2 separate regions of the Homo sapiens genome follow, and region 1 is linked to region 2. Evidence: promoter capture Hi-C in 16 types of primary human blood cells and fetal thymus (Javierre and others, 2016). All regions are on one chromosome and are shown on one strand. Each heading gives the region's core, a stretch centred on a gene start or on the middle of the fragment in contact. The rest is flanking DNA. Distances are from core to core; before and after follow the strand shown.

Region 1 (4,021 bases), core at 191-2,690, 160 kb before region 2:
CTGGTTTGAAGGTAGTTCCTCTAAAATCATTTTGGAAGAAATAAAATAATTAAAAAAATAAAATACAAAAATAAAATAAATTCGGTAATTTCTCTGATACATTTTGATTAAAAGACTATTCATTTACATTCACATTTTTATGGTAGTGATGTTGAAACTAGCACTAAGCTATATTTCCTAGCACATATATAAAGAGTGATCCATTGTGTTTGGAGATAATGCTGTTCAAGATATAAGGTGTAGGACAGGACCAAAAATTATCAAACAGCTAAGTACAGAGTGAATATTGTCAAGGTAGACTGTCATAAATCTTGGACTTCGTTTTCCTCTAGTAATAATATTTTGTGTTAAGATTTTTATCTTTATTTATTCAATGACTCTGGGTTGGGAAAAAGAATAAAGTCCACAACCAGAAACTAGAAAATGCTCTAAAGCGCTATTTAGGGACCGAAATGTTGTTGGCTACAACTCTCTCAGCACATTGGGCTTCACTTGAAGAAACTAACAAACCTGTCTGCAAATGAGCACTTGCTTATAAGTAGATAAGGACTGCTGAAGTGTATGGAAGACAGTGGTTTAACATCATTTAGAACTCATCATTAAAAAATCATTAAACATCATTAAAAATGAATTTATTCAAAAAATGTTTTATGGATTTGAATTCTTCATTGAATTCACATAGCTCAAGCCTATCAATGAATGTATAGGCAGATAGGCAATTTGTTAGCTACCAAAGAAACTCCTCCAATCCTTCCATAGCAAAAACTTGGGAAAAGTTATTTTCTGATGTTAAAGAGCCAAAAGACTTTGGAATTACCACTTAGATCTCTATATGAAAAGTCTTTCTTTTTTTTTTTAGAATCAAGTAAATCAAGTCTTATCTCTTCTGAGCATGTCATGAAGTCTCCATTAAAACAATTAGTAATTATCATATGGTTCATACAAATTCTGTAAGTGTGCTTCTCTATTCATATCTCCTTTTCCCTTTTCTCCATAGCACACTTGTTCAACAACTAACCTTCAATTTATATCCTTTTTCTTCTGTACCCTTGTACAATAGCATATATTTATTTTTCTTTTTAGAAACTATCAGATATTTTTTCTTATCAATCAAGAAATCTAGTGATCAAAACCTTGTCATCATAAATATTCTCTACCTTTACCACCAGCTTCAAGTCATGTAAAAATTCAGTCAGAATAGGATATTTTCTAATGCGAATGTTACAGAACTCACAATAGAACCCTATATCATCTTAGAGTTTTTAAGTGGCATTTTATTATGTACAACTTCCTTGATTTTCTATAAAGAATCAGGACAACAAAAGGGATAAAAACATATTATTAATTATATTATTAATCTTTATATTAATTAAAACATATTATTAGCCTTTCATCCATTTAAGAACTTAGTATTAATTGAAATCTATTGGGTAGCATATTTATATTTTTTACAGTGAGATGTATTTTTAATAACAGCCTGCTTAATTGAAATCCCAACAAAGATAGCATATTTGCAAATATTCAGATTTGAAATAATCAAAACAATAAGACATAATTTCCCAGTTTGTTTGCTATTTATTTTTAATTATCTGAAATTTAGCAAAAACATGTGATGTGATTACTTGGACATATTCCATTCTTTTCAAGCACTGGCTTGATACAAAAATAAAATTGATTTCTTCACGAATATGAACTATCATGTTTTCTTGATAATTTCACTCACCTAAATTCTTTCAGAATAATTCTCTTGGCTTGTGGTAATTTTTTTCACTACACAATTTTATTCTATATCTATTTTTTTCAGACCAAAATATGCATTCTTATTTGAAGTATTATATAAAGTTGAAAAATGTTAAAATGCATTAATTCTCATATTAAAGTCAAGTTAATACTGTATGTCCTAGAATTATTCTTTCAACTCTATTTCCAACTGAATTCTCACATTTATAATGAATCTGCCTCGGTACAGTAAGAGTTTACTGTCGCTATTTAAACTGTTTTAAAGACCGTATTGATAAACTATGATTTTCATTTTAATATATCTAAAAACTTTATTTCACAAATTATTTGATATTAAAGTCTTAGATAAACACACATTTGAATGTTTTTATTTCCCATAGTCATCTTCACATTTAATTTAATACATTTAGTGAGTATCTCTTCCTGTGAGGAAATTGACTAGGTCAAAGGACTTGAAAGAACATTAAGACAGGTCTGTCCCCTCATGGAACTTGCAAGCTCTTGGGGTGACAGGCACATACATACACATGCAGTAAGCATGCTGTGTAAATGCAACATAATAAAGATGTGAACTACATGCTATGGGAGCATTTCTTGAGGAAGTCTCAGCAGGGCATGCAACCTGTGCAGCTGCACAAGTCACGTGCTTGGAAGAGTTTCTTCTGCTGGATTTAATGCTCTGCTGTCAGCATCTTGAATTCTTACCATTTTAAAATAAGGGACCCTACATTTGTATTTTGCACTGGGCTTGTCCTGAAAGTGAGCCTGTGTACACGGTGCCCAAATGCAGATGGTGGGCTTTGGGGAAGGAGTAGCCCTGAGCCTCCCTGAACACTTGGTCATGAAAGTGAACTGGAATTTGGCAAGGGAAAAGAAAGTAAGGAGAGGCAAATAATCCCAGAGAACAGAAGCAGAACAAAGGCATGACATAATATTTGTTTAGACGTAATAATTAGGCTCTTACATCTAGAGAAGATGAAATTAAGAGAGGATAATTTGTAATCAGATTTCCAAGGGCCTTAAAAGCCTACCTAGATTTTATTTATAAGAAAAGTAATAACTTTAAGCAAGGAAATGGAATGAAATGTAAATTGGTGTAAACGTAAAGTTGGAGAAAAAGACTAGAGGGTGGCATCTTTAATAGAAGATAATGGCAGAAATCTAGATTTAAAAATAACAGGCTGTAGGAGAACAATGAAAGGGAGGATGAAGAGATGGGTAAGTGAGCCATACTCAAGGGCACATGGTGTTTCAAAAACACCTCCCACTATTTGGCTTTTATCCTTGAAAGAGAGCTCATAAGAAAGTTTCACCAGGCCCACTGAAGTGGAAAAGCATAATAATATACTTGGTGAGTAATCTAACTTCTTTTTCTCCAAAGGCTAGTAATCACCTATAAATTAAAATAAAGCACTTAAGTTTTATAGCAAAAAACAAACAAACTGGCGATTTTCACTAAAACCAAAAATGAAAAAAAAAAAAAGTAAAAACAAAATAAAAACCCTGATTAAGGGTGCATTTGAAATATATAGTCTCTTCTGCATGGCTTATTCCTGTGCCTCGATCTATAACAACAAAGCAATCAACAAGCAAACCATATAGTCAAATTAAAGTCTGGTATTAAAAGTAAGCTTGACTTGATTGAATCAAAGCAGTTCATTTATTAAGTTTTTCACTTCTCAACTTAATTCCTTCAAAATAGGAATATGACCATATTAACTTAGTAAATTATTATTTTAAAGAGAGGATTATCTGAAATCAGTATAATTTCATTTTTTCAAATACAGATCTGGAGAAAGAGATTGCATGTTTTATTTTGGGCTAAAATACTTAGTTGAAAACTATTTAATAAAACATTTGAATAGAAGTTTTCTGGTGTTTCCCATATCAAACTGCTACCCTTTCTTGTATCCAATCTCATCAATACCATTTATGAAACTGAAGAATATATTAACATATAATATATTATGAAGAATATATCTAAGTGTAATAACTGCAAAATAATCTTCGTTGAAGATTTAAATAGCCTACAGTGATTCTTGTAATATGGTTTGCAAAACATTCAGATAAGCAAGCTAATATCTTCCAAGTATTGTTTGTTACCAACTTTTCTACATCCAATTCTTCTCTAAATGTTCTTAAAATGTTGCTTATGATTATTACTTTGTCAATAAGCTTTCTCAGGGTTTCCAAGTTTTTTGTTGTTTTTTTTTTTTTTTTTTGAGACGGAGTCTCGCTCTGTCGCCCAAGCTGGAGTGCAGTGGCGCGATCTCGGCTCACT
Region 2 (3,999 bases), core at 1,483-3,982:
AGTTTCCCTATCTCTGCGGGAGCACACACTAACTCCGCTCCTTCTCTCAATCTTCAAACTTATTTGGAGGGTACCGAAGTTTCTGCGCAAATTTTGCGCGCAGTTCCCACGTGCCCGCTTCAGGTCTTCAACTTTCCCTATTTTCTTTCTCCCGGAATCTCACTCTGAACTTTTGCCTCTGCGCTTCCTTGCAGAGAACCGTGGGGACAAAGCGGCGCTGTGAAAGGGGGTGGAATGATCATCTCTACCCCGAAACTGACAAGTTGCCCCACTCCCGCCCCCTCTTGGTAGATCCTCCCCCACTGAGCGTTCATTAGCATAAAACTGGTCTGGCTGGGGACCGGTCCCGCCGCCTCCTCCGTGCGCGCGCTTTGCTGGGCTGGGGAAGCCAAGGCACAGAGTATCAGGGCCGCTGAGCATCCCAGTGCAAAGTGTGCACCTGCTCGCTGCTTAAGCTACTAACCTTTAAGAAAAGAAAAGAGAGAGAAAGACAGAAAGAAAACACACTTTGGAGAGAAAGAGACAGAGAACTCGAAAGAGAGATCGAGAGAGAGCGCGCTCCGTGGCTTTCCTTCCTAATCTCTCCAGTTCAGCTTCCATTGAGTCTCGGGCAATCGGTCACCTCCCCCTACCGAAGAAAACCTGCTGGTTGCCCTCGCATCTGCCCCGGGGCCACCGTACCCCTTTATTTCCTTTGCACACGCACTCGCTCACACGCGGACACACGCACACATGCGCGAACACACAGACCCCTCCCCTCGGCTGGCTTCCCCTCCGGGCTTCGGAGCTCAAGTCCCCGGAGCCCATCCCCCGGGATGGACCCGGTCTCTCAGCTTCGCGGGTCATTTCCCTCCCGACCTCAAAGTGCCCTCCTCGGGTGCTGGTCCGCTCCCTCGCCTTTCCCAGCGGGGCCCTCACCCGGAGCGCGTCTCCCCGCTCCCCGAGCCCTGCGGAGCAGGTCACGACCTCCCCCCGCCCCCGGGACACCGCTCGGCGCCACAGATCAGCCCTGTCGGTGCCGGGAGGCTGGCCGTGGAACCCAGGTCCTGGGGAGCGCACGAACGCGGACAGCAGCGCTGAGAGGGGTCTCCAGGCGCCCGCGCGCCCGGGGCAGGGGGCTGTGGCTCCAGCAAAGGCGCCGTCCTCCTCCCTCTCGTCCCCTCCGCCCCGAGGCTCGGCTTTCCCACATCCCACAGCAGCCCATCCCCGGGACCCAGAGGGCAAGGGGAGGACCGGGCCGAAGAGCGAGGTCTGGGCAGGGTGAGGTGCCAACTTCTCAGGGGGTCGGGCGCGGCTGGCGAGCCCCGAGCAGGGAGAGGAGAGGGCCGCGCTCGCCGGGGCGCGCGGCTCGCGGGCGCGCAGAGCGAGCGGCGCCGGGAAAGGAGCGAGGGCAGGCGAGCAGGCTGGTGGGAAGGGGCGCGGGCGGCGGGGGCTATCCCCCCCGACTCACCTTGCGTTGGTGCAGTCATTGTAGAGGGTCTCGAAGTCCTTCCTGGAGATGAGTTTGCAGCGGTTCACTCCTGGCTGGATGGCGCCCAGTCCCCTCAGGATGCGAACTTGTTCCACATTGCACACCACCGGCGTGATCTCCAGCCGCTTCAGCTTGGTGTAGACCGTATGCAAGCCCCCCACCAAGTGCTTCAGGAACAGGTCGAAAGCCTGGGGCAGGCAGATCAGCTCGCAGCCCTCCACCGTGAAGGAAGCCACTTTGGCCCCCCTCAGATCCACCATTTTGCACTCATTATTCTGAGGGGTGTTTTCCACTGGGGACGGGGTTGAGTACACGGGTTTCCCGGGGAGGGGGCCGCAGCTGCTGCTGCTACTGCTGCTGCTGCTACTACTGCTGCTGCTGCTGCTGCTGCTACTGCTGCTGCTGCTGCTGCCGGTGCTGGCGTTGATGGGGGTGCTGGAAGCGACGCCGCCGCCAGCGCTGATGCCGCCGCCGCCGCCGCCGCTGCCGTTGCTCGCGGCCGCCAGGTTGGGGTTGCAGTTGCTGCCACCGCCGCCGCCGCCACCGCCGCCTCCGTTGCCGCTGCTGCCGCCGCCGCCTCCGCTGCCGCCGCCGCCGCCGCCGCCGCCGGTAGAGGTGACTGTGGCCGCCGCCGCCGCCGCCGAAGCGATGGGCTCCGGGCGGAACAGAGTTGGCCCAGAGGACGCCGGGGGTCCGATGGAAGGAGCCGGAGACGAAGTCGCCGAAGAGGTGGAGGTGGTGGTGCCAGAGGAGGAAGCAGACGTGGAGATTGGGGGTTGAGGGGGGACCAGCTGGGTCGGAGGGATCAAAGCCGCCGGCACTGCCATGGTCACATATAAGGGGAAACAGACGGAGGAGAAGCGAGAGGAAAAGTTGCCACACACCCCCGGGAGGGGAAGGGGAAAAAAGGGGGGAGAAGGAGCGAGGGGGGCAACAACAACTCCGGGAGAGAACGAGAAGGAGAAAGGGAGAGAAGGGGGAGAAAAGGAGGTGAAGGTAATAAAGAGCGAGCGCAAGAGGGGCGAGCACGAGAGGCGCTCTGGAGAGGAACGCACAAAAGTGTCCCGCAAGTCGAAATGCGAGTCCTCTCCGGGGGCTGGGATCGAGGGCTGGTTTGGGGGTGGGGGTGGGGCGGGGAGGGTCGGCTGTTGTTGTGTGGGTCTCGCTCTAGCACAAAGTTAAGGATGAAGGTGAAAAGGAGGAGGTTTGAAGGACTTGGGCTCTCCCTGGCAAGTACATTGATCAAAGATTGAGAGGGGAATGACAGAGAGAAAATGAGCTGAAAAGTGCAGGCTGCCGGCTGGACGAGTTGTTGTTGTCACACGGTGCAGAGGGGAGGAGCTCCGGAAACTTGAAATACCCTTTGAAGCCGCAAAAACCTCACTCACTAGTATTAACCCAAATTATCCAACCAGGAACTCGGAGCAGAGACTCCGAGAGCGCGAGACACTGGAGAGGGAGCGTGCGAGGAAAGGAGGAGGGGAGGGGGAGGATACGGAAAGAAACTGTGGGAGGGACGGAGAGGAAAAGCCGGGGACACAGAAGTGGCGATCGGAAAAGGAGAGGGAGATCATCTACTTCTCTTCTACTACTACCGTTAGATTGCATGTCTCACATTCCATTTCGTCCGCGGGGACTGGTAATTTTTTCCAAAGCTTCTAAACAATCGCCCGCCAACTTAAAGAGGAGCCTGAGCGCGCCGAGCTCTCTCCTTCCAGGATTTAGGATCCATCTCCACGCGTTTTGGCAATGAGCTAGAAACGAAAACACAGCCCCCACTTCACGATTATTCAGAAATTATTTTGAGGAAAATTCACATGTAAGCAAAGCGTAATGTTCTTTTGCATCTGATTGTTTATTTCTCTACTAAATTATTTATTTATATAAAGATAGTGAAAATTCCAGGACAGTTTTCAAGTGGTGAGAAGAAAGTCAGTCCGAAATCGCTTAAGAATAATGGAAAGCTCTGTATTCAATTCCATATTTCCTAATAGGTTGTGGAAAGAAATGCTTGCCTTGATGTGGATGATTTAGAATAACTTCACTGTCTCCCCAAAAGCCAGTCAGAAATACCTGTTAAACCTAGAGCTATCAAGGAGATAAGGTATCCTTGAAGATTTAGAAAGTGGAAAAAGGGTTTTCTTACCCAAAACTCTATAATTAATTCACCTGTCTTACACAGTAACCAACTATCCTCATGTCCTTTAAGACCCAAAGCCAATTGCTAATGTGTTTTTTGGACAACACAATAGTTTTTTTTTTTTTTTTTTCATGTTTGAAAAGTGCTGCTGTAGTTTTGGAAAGTCCTTTTCAATTTGTCAGTAAATATATGTTTTGTAAATAATGGGAAGAACAAAAACAAAGCTCACTAGTTGACTTGTAAAGACTTGGGTAGCTGTGCTTAAAACAACATGAGGCTGAGTTTAGACTGACTCTATTCCTCCTTTCCTTCCTCTTTCCTTTTCTTTTCTTTTCTAACTTGTTGCACTGAAGTATTTATTCAAGGATTTTTGACTAACATATCATTT

The links. The method cuts DNA at HindIII sites, captures the fragments that hold promoters and counts their contacts. A CHiCAGO score of 5 or more calls a contact.
Region 1: a contact is called between a fragment that was not itself captured here and the fragment with the promoter of DACH1 in region 2, in 1 of 17 cell types (monocytes). The highest score is 5.1, in monocytes.

What each region holds. Positions count from the first base shown.
Region 1 is chr13:71,704,909-71,708,929 of GRCh38, forward strand. All of the region lies in intron 1 of DACH1 (dachshund family transcription factor 1), which reads right to left. Among named protein-coding and RNA genes, the nearest start is that of DACH1, 160 kb to the right of the region's middle. The HindIII fragment of the contact is 3,858 bases long and covers 1-3,369 here.
Region 2 is chr13:71,864,472-71,868,470 of GRCh38, forward strand. It overlaps DACH1 (dachshund family transcription factor 1), which reads right to left and starts at 2,733. Exons shown (of 11, transcript NM_080759.6): 1 at 1,451-2,733. The coding sequence starts at 2,298. The HindIII fragment of the contact is 4,223 bases long and covers 1-3,124 here.